4 separate regions of the Homo sapiens genome follow, and all the other regions are linked to region 2. Evidence: promoter capture Hi-C in 16 types of primary human blood cells and fetal thymus (Javierre and others, 2016). All regions are on one chromosome and are shown on one strand. Each heading gives the region's core, a stretch centred on a gene start or on the middle of the fragment in contact. The rest is flanking DNA. Distances are from core to core; before and after follow the strand shown. Region 1 overlaps STEEP1 (STING1 ER exit protein 1). Region 2 holds the start of SOWAHD (sosondowah ankyrin repeat domain family member D). Region 3 holds the start of NKRF (NFKB repressing factor). Region 4 has its middle 41 kb from the start of SLC25A5-AS1.

What was found. The method cuts DNA at HindIII sites, captures the fragments that hold promoters and counts their contacts. A CHiCAGO score of 5 or more calls a contact.
Region 1: a fragment that was not itself captured here is called in contact with the fragment with the promoter of SOWAHD in region 2 in 2 of 17 cell types (total CD4 T cells and total B cells); the score reaches 5.7 in total CD4 T cells.
Region 3: a contact is called between the fragment with the promoter of NKRF here and the fragment with the promoter of SOWAHD in region 2, in 6 of 17 cell types (naive B cells, total B cells, total CD8 T cells and 3 more). The highest score is 7.0, in naive B cells.
Region 4: a fragment that was not itself captured here is called in contact with the fragment with the promoter of SOWAHD in region 2 in 3 of 17 cell types (naive CD4 T cells, naive B cells and total CD8 T cells); the score reaches 8.3 in naive CD4 T cells.

Annotation. Positions count from the first base shown.
Region 1 is chrX:119,543,804-119,547,208 of GRCh38, reverse strand. STEEP1 (STING1 ER exit protein 1) reads left to right here. Exons shown (of 7, transcript NM_022101.4): 3 at 1,705-1,746; 4 at 2,718-2,856. Among named protein-coding and RNA genes, the nearest start is that of STEEP1, 20 kb to the left of the region's middle. The HindIII fragment of the contact is 9,697 bases long and covers 1-3,405 here.
Region 2 is chrX:119,757,112-119,760,143 of GRCh38, reverse strand. It overlaps SOWAHD (sosondowah ankyrin repeat domain family member D), which reads right to left and starts at 1,556. Exons shown (of 1, transcript NM_001105576.3): 1 at 1-1,556. The coding sequence starts at 1,476. The coding sequence ends at 529. RefSeq lists silencers at 1,247-1,546, 1,657-1,806. The HindIII fragment of the contact is 2,232 bases long and covers 214-2,445 here.
Region 3 is chrX:119,604,602-119,607,965 of GRCh38, reverse strand. It overlaps NKRF (NFKB repressing factor), which reads left to right and starts at 1,542. Exons shown (of 4, transcript NR_163972.1): 1 at 1,542-2,235. RefSeq lists an enhancer at 1,309-1,418 and a silencer at 1,959-2,008. The HindIII fragment of the contact is 11,769 bases long and covers 1-3,364 here.
Region 4 is chrX:119,508,501-119,511,908 of GRCh38, reverse strand. No RefSeq gene overlaps it. Among named protein-coding and RNA genes, the nearest start is that of SLC25A5-AS1, 41 kb to the right of the region's middle. The HindIII fragment of the contact is 1,153 bases long and covers 1,127-2,279 here.

The DNA.
Region 1 (3,405 bases), core at 883-3,382, 210 kb after region 2:
TGATATGGAATATATATATATATTTAACCAAGTTATATTTTTAAGTGAACAAAAGTAGAGAACAGCGTACATTTGTCTAAAAAAGGAAAAAAATATTTTCTTTATGTACCAGTCAGAGTTCTTTGCTTATATATGCATCAGCTATCTCTAGGATGAACAGAAGAAACCAGAAACAGTATTTGCCTCTGGGGAAGGGAACTGGGTGGGTGGAGGATGAGTAGGGAAGATATTTTTTGTTTTATACTCTTATGTATACCATATGCATATATTGCCTATTACAAAGTTGAAACAAGGGGAGGGGAAGTGAAGAGACCAGTCAGGACCGTTTGTTACAGTCGTCCAGGGAGTTGATAATGGTGGTGTAGGCTAAGATAGTGGCAGGAACGTGGAGACAAGCAGACAGATTCAAGGTCTTTTCTTGGAGATAAAAATCCATAGAATTTGCTGATGAAGTAAGTGTGGGAGATGAGGGGAAGAGAAGAATCAAGGATGAGTCCCAGGTTTCTGTTAAACAGCCGTGTGGGTGGAATTGAGTCCTTGTGTATATGACTTGGTGTCTAAGGTGGTATTGTGTGGGCTCTTGAGCTTGACTGCCTGGGCTTAAATTCAACCTCTGCTTCCTAGCTCCACGACTTTGGGCAAGCCATGTAATACTCTGTGGGCCTAGGTTCTTCATTCATAAAGTGGGAATAATAATATGACATACCTCACAGAGTTGTTGTAAGGATTAAATGAGTTAATACATGTATACTTTTTTTTTTTTTTTTTGAGATGGAGTCTCGTTCCGTCACCCAGGCTGGAGTGCAGTGGCGTGAACTCGGCTCACTGCAGCCTCTGCCTTCCAGGTTCAGGTGATTCTCCTGCCTCAGCCTCCTGAGTAGCTGGGATTACAGGCATCCGCCACCACGCCCAGCTAATTTTTATATTTTTAGTAGAGACGGAGTTTCCCCATGTTGGCCAGGATAGTCTCGAACTCCTTACCTCAAATGATCCACCCACCTGGGCCTCCCAAAGTGCTAGGATTGCAGGCGTGAGCCACCGTGCCCAGCCGAGTTAATACATGTATACTTTAGAATAGCTCTTGGCACATAGTAAAGGGTTTATAAGTGGTTGCCGCTATTATTGTTGTTGTTATTACTACAACTACTATTGCTACCTATGATTATGACTACACTGCTCCTCCTCTTCCTCTTCCTTTGTCAGGGAGATACCTGACCTGTATCAGGGGCTCCATAAATGTTTGTTGCAGGAAGGGAGGAATGTTGAACCAATGAGTTGACCTATGAAATGAAAACTTTTTTTTTTTTTTTTTTTTGAGACGGAGTTTCACTCTTGTTGCCCAGGCTGGAGTGCAATGGCTCGCTCTCGGCTCACCGCAACCTCCGCCTCCCAGGTTCAAGCAATTCTCCTGCCTCAGCCTCCCGAGTAGCTGAGATTATAGGCATGCACCACTGCGCCCGGCTAATTTTGTATTTTTAGTAGAGACGGGGTTTCCCCATGTTGAGGCTGGTCTCGAACTCCTGACCTCAGGTGATCCGCCCGCCTCAGCCTCCCAGAGTGCTGGGATTACAGGCGTGAGCCACCGTGCCCGGCCCCCAAATGAAAACTTTTGAAAGGGCCTCTTAGCGTTTGAAGAAATGGGATAGTAAGGTTGATACATAATGAGATTTGTTCATATCTTTTTAACTTCCATTTTCTGTGCAGACCTGAAGGCATTGAACGACAGTACAGGAAGAAATGTGCAAAGTAAGTATTAACAATGTGGGTTTCTCCAAGCATAGGCAAGTAGAGGCATAATGTGTTAGGAAAATAATTATTTGGATACAACTCTCCATTATGTCTTTTTTTTTTTTTTTGAGACAGAGTCTTGCTCTGTCGCCCAGGCTGGAGTGCAGTGGTGCAATCTCAGGTCACCTTAACCTCTGCCTCCTGGGTTTAAGCGATTCTCCTGCCTCAGCCTCTCTAGTAGCTGGGATTACAGGCACATGCCACCATGCCTGGCTAATTTTTGTATTTTAGTAGAGACAGGGTTTCAACATGTTGGTCAGGCTGGTCTCGAACTCCTGACCTGAGTTCATCCGCCCACCTCAGCCTCCAAAACTGCTGGGATTACAGGCCTGAGCCACCTCGTCCGACCCCCATTATGTCTTTATCCTTATCAACTGCCTTCAGACTTCAACTATGCACAAATACCAATATGTTCCCCAAAGAGGCTAGTCAAAGTTGTATCTTTGACCAGCTGGCCAGAAAAATGAATTTTTTTTTTTGAGACAGAGTCTTGCTCTTGTTGCCCAGGCTGGAGTGCAGTGGCATGATCTCCACTCACTGCAACCTCCACCTCCCGGGTTCAAGCAGTTCTCCTGTGTCAACCTCCCGAGTAGCTGGGATTACAGGCACCTGCCACCATGCCTGGCTAATTTTTGTATTTTGAGTAGAGATGGGGTTTTGCCATGTTGGCCAGGCTGGTCTTGAACTCCTGATCTCAGGTGATCCACCTGCCTCGGCCTCCCAAAGTGCTGAGATTACAGGCGTGAGCCACCACGCCCGGCCTAAGTGATTCTTATCAGGTAGAGGTAGTTTTGGGAGACACTGAGAAGAGCCAGTCATTAGTTTATGCCACAAACAGAAATATTCCCAGAGTCTAAGCACACTTTGCAAATTGCTGTTTTGGGAATTTGGATTATGAGACCTCGCAGAAATTCACTGTGTCATTGCAGGTGTGGACTGCCGCTCTTCTACCAATCCCAGCCAAAGAATGCTCCTGTTACCTTCATTGTGGATGGAGCAGTAGTCAAGTTTGGCCAGGGCTTTGGGAAAACGAACATATATACTCAGAAACAAGAGCCTCCTAAGAAGGTAATTACCATTGAAGGAGAGACTGCTTAATATAGCTCTAGATTTAGCTCATGTTTTGAAATAAGATTATAGTGATGAGAAACTGCTCTTTATGGATGTATTCTTTTTATTTCTTTTTCTTTTTTTGTCTTTTTCTTATTTTATTTCTTTTTTCTTTATGGATATATTCTTATACTTTATTTTTATTTTTTAAAAGTTAAAAACGATTTGGGGGGTATATAGATGCACATATTTATGGGGTACATGAGATATTTTGATACAGGTATGCAATGTGTAATCACATCATGGAAAATGGGGTATTCATCCCCTCAAGCATGTGTATGGATGCATTCTTTATTAATCGGGTGCCATTTTTGTGTATAAACAGATGCTATGTAATTGTAACACCTGTTATGTGTTCTCTCTTTCCTACAGTTGCCTCATGACTAAGGTTAGAAATTGTATGGTTTTTACTCACATTAATTTCCTTCAAATTTTCTTCTTTTTATGGAGAGATATCATGTGTTATTTTACAAATTTTTTTTTGAACAATTAAAAACAATGAATTAG
Region 2 (3,032 bases), core at 307-2,806:
GAGAAAAAGTACCAGTAAGGCTGGGTCGTCTCAGGAGGAGGTTGTCAGAGGCTGACTCTACCCGCACCCCAAGACCCATTAATGGCCGAGCGAGGCCGGCAGAGTTAGGCGTTTTCTCTGCATTGGTGGTTTACAATCTTAACTCATTCTTCTAGCGAATGTTTCCTAATAAACCCAGCGCGTCGGCCTGCCCAGAAATGGCCCCTGGAAGCTTAACTTGCCCTCTCCCAAGCAGGACCACGCTCCCTGCTCCCAACTCCTTAGTCCTGTAGCTTTGGAACTCGGAGCCAGGCCAGCTTGGTCCTTCACTCTCTCTTGGTGAGGTGGTGCCCGAGTCCCCGGGTCCTCCAGGCCGGTGGTTACAGGAGACCTGAGACAAGTACCTGAGTCGGACCCCGACGTGTTCTGTTCCTTGCAGGCCCAAGCAGCGTCCAAGGCGCCTCTCCTTCGGTGGAACCCGGGACAACCCAGGACCTAGCCATCGCCACAGTGTCACAGCCCCTCCTAGCTCTCCAGTCTCTGTCCCTGTCAACGGTCCTGGAATGAGGGGAACAGATGGCGGAAAAGGCTATGCATTTGCGCCACCCGGCTGCCCGCGGTGTCCTTCGCCTTGGTCCGCGACGCTGCCACTCTCCTGCTTGTCTCCACAGCCGTCGCGCCCACTGCGCTCGCGGCCCTCCACGCAGTGGTGCCACTGCTGTTGTTGTTCAGGTTGGTGCACCCGCTGCCGCTCTCCATCTCCCATTCCTCGGCTCCCGACAGCTCCCGCAACCTCCAAGGCGCGTCGGGCCGCAGGTAGTGGCAGGCCCGGTGGCCGCTGTGGTCGCGGCGCGTAGCGTCAGCACCCAGGGCGCCCACCAGCACCTTGATGACCATGTCGTGGCCCTGAAGGGCCGCCAGGTGGAGGGGCGTGAGGCCGCCGCTGCCTGGGGCGCTCACGTCGAGCCTCAGCCCCCGGCGTAGGGCGAAATCGTGTACCAGAATGAGCTCCTCGTGGCGCCCGTGCTTGGCCAGCCAGTGCAGAACCGAGTAGCCGGTGATCGGGTCGCCCCGCAGCAGCAGCTCCGGCTCAGCCTCCAGCAGCTCCCGCAGCACCTCATAGCGGCCCTCGGCGGCTGCCAGAATCCACGCGTGCTCCCGCGGTTCCAGGCACAGCCTGCTGCTGCCCGGCCCACTCGGCCCGCCCAGCTCCTCGGCGCGCTCCTCCGACAGCCACCCCGCAGGAGCCGCCCGCTGCAGCCCCAGCAGTTCCCGCAGCGCTCCCCGCCGGCGCCCTGAGCCCGCTGCAGAGTGCATCAGCGTGCCTGGGAAGGGGTGCTCCCGGGAGGCGGCGGCTGCGGCTTTGCCCCAGTACCTGCCCAGGCTACCAGTGTCCGCTCTCGAGGGGCGGGGCTGCGGGGCGCACCGCAGGCTCTGCGAGGTCGGCGCGAGAGAGGCCGTGGGTGCCCGGTTCGCGGCCCCTCCGAGCTGGGCCATGGTCTTGAAGCTGCCGCCGCGGCCGTCCCAGTGTCCAGCGTTAGCTGCCCTTCCCGGGCCCCAACGGGAGAGGAACTGGCGCTGGCGTTGGGGAAGGAAGCTGCTTGAGCAATTGGGTTCGGAGGGAGGGAGCAAAGGAGAGGAGGAGGAGGAGGAGGAGGAGGAGGGAGGGAGCTAGGGGAGGGCCCCCGCGCAGGCCTTGGGGGGCGTGGAGGGGTGTGAGCTCCAGCCAAGTCCCCAGGGCAAGCCCAGCTCCACTTCCCTGGGTACCGCCGCCTCTGCAGCTCCCCCGGGTCGCGGGCGGTCCCACCCCAAACGGCCAGGTGAGCTCGGCAGCCCCGCCTCCAGCACCGAAGGGCGGGCGCGGGGACTGGCTGGGAGCTCGCCTGCGGCCCTGGAAGCCGCGGTTCTCAGCATCCCAGCCGGGGCTAGAGTGTAGAGGCGCGAGGGCGCCCCTTCCGCAGCGGGCCGAGCTCGGCTTCCAGCCACGGTCTCCCAAAGCGCGGTCCTGGAGCTCCGAGGCTCTGGCTCCCCGCCCCCTTCCTTCGCCCTTCCCTCTTATCTCTTCAGGAGTCTCCCTGCACTTTGTCCCGGAGTTGCCATTGTCCCGCGCCTAGCATTCACGCAGGCAGCTCGACTGCCCCATGTGACTGGCTCGTCTGCCTGCCTTGCCCTTTGTGTGGCCTTGACCCTCGCCGCAGCACCCGGGGCTGCCCAGGATTCCAGCAGAGAAGCCCAAGACCAGGGTCCAGGCTGACGCTCTTCCAGGGAACTCAGGAGGGATATTCCCCTTCTGCACCGCCCTCTCTGTCCTGCTCTCCACCCTCTTCCCTCCCGTCAATTTTCCCAGGTTGGCTTGGAGAAGCAGCTACAGGTGAATCTGAGCCGGCGCCGCAGGAGCGCCCTGTTCTCTTTAGAGATGCATCCCTGCTCTCTCCCCAGGGCCCCGCTTTCTACAAATTCAAAGCTTAGGGGCTTTTTAAAAAAGGATATTTTTTCTTTTTCACTCCTAATACCAGCGTACTCTTTGCTCTTCCCTTCCCTTAGTAAATAGTGGTTCTTGCCTCCACACCCCCAGCATCTTAAGGAGCTCAGTCAGTGAGCAACGGGGAGCCATAGAAGATTGTTGAGCCGGGGAGAGACACAGCCATGATGGAGGTTGTGTTAAAAAGGTGATTTGGGAGGTGCAGAGGCAGGAAGTCGGAAGACTGTTCCAGCAGTCTAGGCCAAGGGGGATGGAGGCTCAGGCCAAATCAGCCCACTCCCTCGGGGCCACCTGTGGCAGCAGTGATAGAAGGTATCGGAAGCTTTTCTTCCTTGGCCCTCACGTATTTGGAACAAGTCCTAAATATCTAGAGCTTTCCTTCAGAACAGTTTATGCATTTGTAATTTGGTTTTGAACATTTACTATGTGCCAGGCACTGTGCTTGTTGCGTTATATATGTTAACTCTTTTAATCCTCCCAGTGACCTCAAGTGCTGGGAATCATTACTGTCCCCAGTTTGCAGAGAGGTTAGGCTACTTGCTCAAGGTCACCCAGCAGGAAGTGGCAGAGC
Region 3 (3,364 bases), core at 293-2,792, 150 kb after region 2:
GCAATGATGAGATGAGAATTTAGGTCACCTGACTCCTCATCTAGTGTTCCCCCAGTCATTTGCCTTTGCACTGCTCTGTTTTCTTTCTTTCTTTTTTTTTTGAAACAGAGTCTCACTCTGTTGCCCAGGCTGGAGTGTAGTGGCGCGATATTGGCTCACTGCAACCTCTGCCTCCCGGGTTCAAGCGATTCTCCTGCCTCAGCCTCCGGAGTAGCTGGGATTACAGGCGCCTGCCACCACGCCCGGCTAATTTTTGTATTTTTAGTGGAGACAGGGGTTTCACCATGTTGGCCAGGCTGGTCTCGAACTCCTGACCTCAAGTAATCCTCCTGCCTCGGCCTCCCAAAGTGCTGGGATTACAGGCGTGAGCCACCGCACCCAGCCTGTTTTATTTTCTTCACAGCATGTATCACCTTGTGAACTTTTTAAAAACATTTCGATTGTTACCCCAATAAACATGAATGCCCACCACGGAGAAAGACAGACGTGGAAATAAATTATGAAAGTGTGTAAAGTGCTGTTATCTTCTGCTCCTCTCAGTCTAATACACCCCTAACATAAAGTGTCATATAATTAGAAATACGTCATTAAAGAGTTAAAGATGGTAGTGTGTTAAAGCCACCTCATCCAATGGTCCGGCTCCTGGTGGAACATTTAGTTTTATGCAGGGCTATTTCTCCCCACCAAGATTGTAGTCAATTCCAGGACAACAGAGAAAACCCACTTTCTTTCCTTCTTTTTTGTACTCTTGCTGTATTGAGCACACAGTAGGTGCTGTGTAAATTCCCGCCGACAGACACTCATTGATTAACTGCTTTCGTGACACAGGTTGGCAGATAGGGACTGAAGTTATTGAGTGAAGCTGACTCCGGGTGGAGTGATACATTTGGCTACAGTGATTGAGCGGCTCTACCTTGCAGTACCCTCTTCTGTGGGCCCCTTTTGTATCTTGTAATCTTTTGCACTTAAGTTGATACGTGAAATACAGACTTGCAATCGTGATCAGAACTGTGTAAACAGTATCTGTGTTCGTAATTGGGATACAGTATGGACTTGAAACTGGCTAACTTGAGAAGCGGCGCTGTGGATGATTTTCTTGGCAAGTGTTTCATTTTTACTACGTTTCCGCAGTAAGCTATTACACAAAGCTAATGATGCACGATGCACAGAGCATTTCAAGCTACTCTCTGAAGAAAAGGCACCTCGGGGAGCTGACTGTTTTGTTTTGTTTTAATGTAAAGTCCAGTGCAGACCTAAATCCCTTACAAGGAACATGGTCTCACTGTCGCGCCGCTTAAAAATCCAGGGAAAAGCGTCAGACGAGCCGTGGGCTACCAACATTCATCTGAGGGCACCTTCTAACCATATTCTCGAACCTCAGAGAACCTTCCTAAATTCCCTTTCTGGAGTCCCCGCCCTCCGCTTGTCACCGTAGTGCGTCAAAGGCCCGTAGTCGTCACTGGAGGGAAAAAAGTACGTCGCGCGAGATTCTGCGACGGGATTTGGAAGTTAGGGAACAGCCGCGGCGCAAGCGCACTGGCCTCACAACCCCGGACGGCACGCGGGTAGGTAGGCTAGAACCTAGAGGAGGGGAGCAGAGCGTGCTGGGGTCTTTTATCGCTCTCCGCGCAGTGCGTGGGTCTGCGGATCCGTGGAGGTGCGGAGCCTGACTCGGCCTCCCCGGCTCGCGCGTGAGTGCGGCGGAAGCCCTTCTGCTCCTCCACGAGTTAGAGGAGTGTAGGGGACGTGCATCCCAGTGTCGGGACGCGAGCTCGTGCTCCTCTTTTCCTCCTAACGGTGGCCCCCACGCACACACTCCAGTCCCCCCGAGAGTTGATCTTCTCCCCTCAGCGCGCCCCTCCTTACCCGGCCCCTCCCACCGGCCCCCCGTTTCCGCCCGCTTGCTAGCTGCCTAGCTCGCGGTCCGTAGTCGGCTTCGTCCCTGGGGTCCCTGCTTGGGGGCGGAGAAGATGGCTGGAGGACGTCTGCTGTTGGGGGGCGACTTCCTGTCGCGCCGCCGCTGCCCCCCCTCCCGCCGCCGCCGCTGCCGCCCCTCCCGCCGCCCCCGCCCGAGCCAGTGCTGGAGCAGTGGCGCTATAGCCACGAAAGTGACTGGCAGTGGGCTCTGCGGCGCAGCTTCATCTGTCGGCACCTGCACAGCTATCCCGGGGCTGCCCTCGACCAGCTCCTCGCGCTCTCCGCCGCCTGGACCAACCACGTCTTCCTGGGCTGCAGGTGAGGAAGGTGTGGGTGTCGGGTTAGGGACGGGGGTGAGAGATCGGTGATGGGGGATCGGGTTAGGGACGGCGCTGGAGGGATCGATGATGGTGGTTGGGATAGGGACGGGGGCGGGATGCGGAGGATAGGTTGGAGGCTGGAGATTTGGAGGTGCTGGAGGGCACTAGAGGGATCACTATTGGCCTGGGGGTGGGGTGGCCGACTGTGGTGGCTGGGCATGACATAACAGCTAGGAGGGTGCAGAGATCGCGGAAGCGGCCTCTCCAGGACCAGGGATGGAGATGAAGCAGCGCCTAGAAGAGGATTATTGAGAGGTGGTCATTGTAGTTGGTGGCGGTATTAGAGGACGTGGGGAATGATGAATAGCAGCATCTCGGACCTGCGTAGGGCCTTCCAAGGATGCAGTATCCGCAGAGAATATATTCGACAGTTGGAGTTGTGGGGGAAGGGCGAGGGGACCCCACTGTTCTAGTCTCCTCCTGACCACTCTCTTTTTCCATTCCTCTTAAATACCCCCCTCTACTTGCAGCCCCCTAGCAGGGTCTTACTGTCTTCTCCTGGGGAGGCGGTACGTATCAGCTCTCTGAGCCGCAGCAGCGTCAGCCTTGCTTGTAGATTTGCGCATAATGTGTCTGGACTCAAACAAAGAAATGGATATATCTACTGTAAAAATGGATTGCCCTCTTTTTACCCTAAATGGGATCAGAAGGATTAACATTTGGCTCTGAGTGAGGTTTTAGGTGTGTGTGTCTGTGGTGGGGGTGGGGGTGTGTGTGTGTTTGTTTTTCCCCCCTTTCCTAGAACCTGGTGACGTTTTGAACAGGCCTCTTTGAAAGCTCTTTGCATTCAATGGAGACTGCAGTATGGTTCCAACGCAGCGTGTTTTGTTTGTTTTTTTTTTTTGAAGAGGCTACTTGGACCTCTGTCCTTCAGAACCCCTAAATCGGCCCTATACTAGACTATTCATTCTTTGATAGATTGGGAGACGACTTCTTTTGACATTCCTGCAATCATAGTTTTTTGTTTTTGTTTTTGTTTTTGTTTTTTTTTAAATCAGGAAGGGTGAGAGATTCTGGAATATGATCATGTCAATTTTGGCCAGTTCAGTTCCAGGAGTGACTGTAAC
Region 4 (3,408 bases), core at 454-2,953, 250 kb after region 2:
ATATATATTTCTATATATTTCTATATATATATTTCTATATATAGAAATATATATATTTTTATATATATATATAGCATCCCCAAGATTTAGAATCAGACAGACCTGGGTTTGAATCTTGATTTTTCTTCTTATTAACTGTGACCTCAGGCAAGTGGCTTAACTTCTCTAGGCCTCAGTCTCCTCATTAATAGAATGGGGAATAATAATACCTGCTTTTCTGGCTGTTCTGAGGATTTATTCACTCATTTGAAAGATAGTGGCATGCCTGTCCTACAGTTGTTACTAGGTTCAGGGGATACAAGAGATTCAACGCCTGGCACATAGTAAGTGCTGAATTAATGATAACTTGTTTTTGAAGGTCATGCCACGAATTTGGACTCAAAATAGCAGGCAGTTGAAAGCATTCTGAAAAGAGAAGTAGTAAGAAAAAAACACTACTTTTTTTTTTTCTTTCTCAGGCAGGGTCTCACTGTTGCCCAGGCTGAGTGCAATGGCACAATCATAGCTCACTGCAGCTTCGACCTCTTGGGTTCAAGCAGTCCTCCTGCCTCAGCCTTCCAAAGTGCTGGGATTACAGGCGTGAGCCACCATGCTCAGCAGGAAAACAATATTGAAGAGGCTTCACCCCTACCTGCAGTGTAGAGGCAGGATTGAAAAATGCCAGCCTTATCATTTTCATAGAGTTGTTCTGAACATCATAAAATAGGGCAGAGCAAGAGGCCTAAGACTAATAAATAGTCGGGAGTTGAACCCATATTGCAACTGGGGACAGGGACTGCTCCTAAAATCATAGGGCCACAGTCTGCCTCTCCCCTGGGAAGCAGCAAGGGGAAGGAGGGGCTGAGAAGAAGCCTTCTGTCTGCTCACTGGAAGCTGAGGGGCTTCATTTTGCCGATCACCTGGCCTGTCTTCGGGCAGTGGTTTCGGGATGTGGGAAGAAGGTGTGGGCGTGCATATGCAGCAGTGAGGATGTTTGAAGGATGTGAGAACACAAGAACATAAAATGCCACCCTGTGGCTGAGCCATGGATTCCTCTGACTCAGACAAGGTCATCATGGAACATGAAGACCCAAATGTCATCTTTGAGTCCTTTGGTAAACTATCAGGTGTGAGTTTATCCAAAGCTTTCAGAAATTGCAGTATTTCTTTTCACCCTGCCTCACCAATTGGGATGTTTTCCACACGTTTTCGCTTCCATTTAAAGATAAGTTATTTTATTAAAAACATACCTCTCTGGAAGAGCTCTACAAGGAGAACTACAAAACACTGCTGAAAGAAATCATAGATGACACAAACAAATGGAAACACATTCTATGCTCATGGATGGGTAGAATCAATATCGTGAAAATGACCATACTGCCCAAAGCAATCTACAGATTCAGTGCAATTCCTATCAAAATACCAACATCATTTTTCACAGAATCAGAAAAAATCCTAAAATTCATATGGAACTAAAAAAGAGCCAGAATAGCCAAAGCAATCCTAAGCAAAAAGAACAAATCTGGAGGTATCACATTACCGGACTTCAAATTATACTACAAGGCTATAGTTACCAAAACAAAATAGTACTGATATAAAAGTAGTTACATTAACTGGGCGCGGTGGCTCACATTTGTAATCCCAGCACTTTGGGAGGCCGAGGCTTGTGGATCACCTGAGGTCAGGAGTTCGAGACTAGGCTGGCCAACATGGTGAAACCTCATCTCTACTGAAAGTACGAAAATTAGCCAGGCATGGTGGTGCGTGCCTGTAATCCTAGCTACTCAGGAGGCTGAGGCAGGAGAATCACTTGAGCCTGGGAGGCAGAGATTGCGGTAGGTCAAGATCACGCCACTGCACTCCAGCCTGGGCAACAGGGAGAGACTGTCTCAAATAATAAAAATAAAATAAAATAAAAGTAGTTATATTAGACCAATGGAACAGAATAGAGAACCCAGAAATAAAGCCAAATACTTACAAACAACTGATATTTGACAAAGCATACGAAAACGTAAGTTGGGGAAAGGATACCCTATTCAATAAATGGTGCTGGGCAAACTGGCTAGCCCCATGTAGAAGAATGAAACTGTATCCCTATCTCTCACCTTATGCAAAAATCAACTTGAGATGGATCAAAGACTTAAATCTAAGACCTGAAATCATAAAAATTCTAGAAGAAAACCTAGGAAAAACTCTTCTGGACATTCTTTGCCTAGGCAGGCAAAGAATTTATGACTAAGACCCGAAAAGCAAATGCCACAAAAACAAAAATAAATGGGACCTAATTAAACTGAAAAGCTTCTTGCACAGCAAAAGAAAAAATCATCAGAGTAAACAGAACCCACAGAATGGAAGAAAATATTTGCAAACTATGCGTCCAACAAAGGAGTAATATACAGAATCTACAAGGAACTCAAACAAATCAGCAAGAAAACAAATAAACAAATAATCCCATTAAAAAGGGGGCAAATGACACGAAGAGACATTTCTCAAAAGAAGATATACAAACGGCCAACACACACATAAAAAATGCTCAACATCACTAATCATCAGGGAAATACAAATTAAAACCATAATGAGATACCACCTTACCCCAGCCAGAATGGCCATTATTATTATTATTATTATTGAGACAGAGTTTTGCTCTTGCCCTCCAGGCTGGAGTGCAGTGGCATGATCTCGGCTCACTGCAACCTCTGCCTCCCGGGTTCAAGCGATTCTCCTGAGGCTGAGGTGTGCGGATCACCTGAGGTCAGGAATACAAGACCAGCCTGGCCAACGTGGTGAAACCCCATCTCTACTAATGATACAAAAATTAGCCAGGCGTGGTGGCAAGCACCTGTAATCCCAGCTACTTGGGAGGCTGACACAGGAGAATCACTTGAACCCGGGAGGCGGAGGTTGCAGTGAGCTGAGATCGAGCCATTGCACTCCAACCTGGGTGACAAGAGCAAAACTCCATCTCCAAACAAAAAAAGAAAAAAAAAGAAAAAGAAAAAGAATGAAATAATGTCTTTTTCGGCAACTTGGATGGAGCTGGAGGCTGTTATTCTAAGTGAAGTAACTCAGGAATGGAAAACCAAATACTGTATGTTCTCACTCAGAAGTGAGAGCTAAGCTATCAGTACACAAAGGCATGTGGAGTGGTATGATGGACACTAGAGACTCAGAAAGGGGAGGGTGGGAGTGGGTGAAGGATAAAAAACTGTAAAATGGATACAATGTATACTACTTGGGTGATGGGTGCACTAAAATCTCAGAATTCACCACTATATAATCCATCCATGTAACCAAAAACCACTTGTACGCCAAAAGCCATTGAAATAAAAAAAATTAAAACAATAAAAAAGGTGAAAAAAAAAGAAAATAAAAACACACCTGTCCAAGCTAGGTGTGGTGGTGCATGCCTATAGTCCTAGATACTCAGGA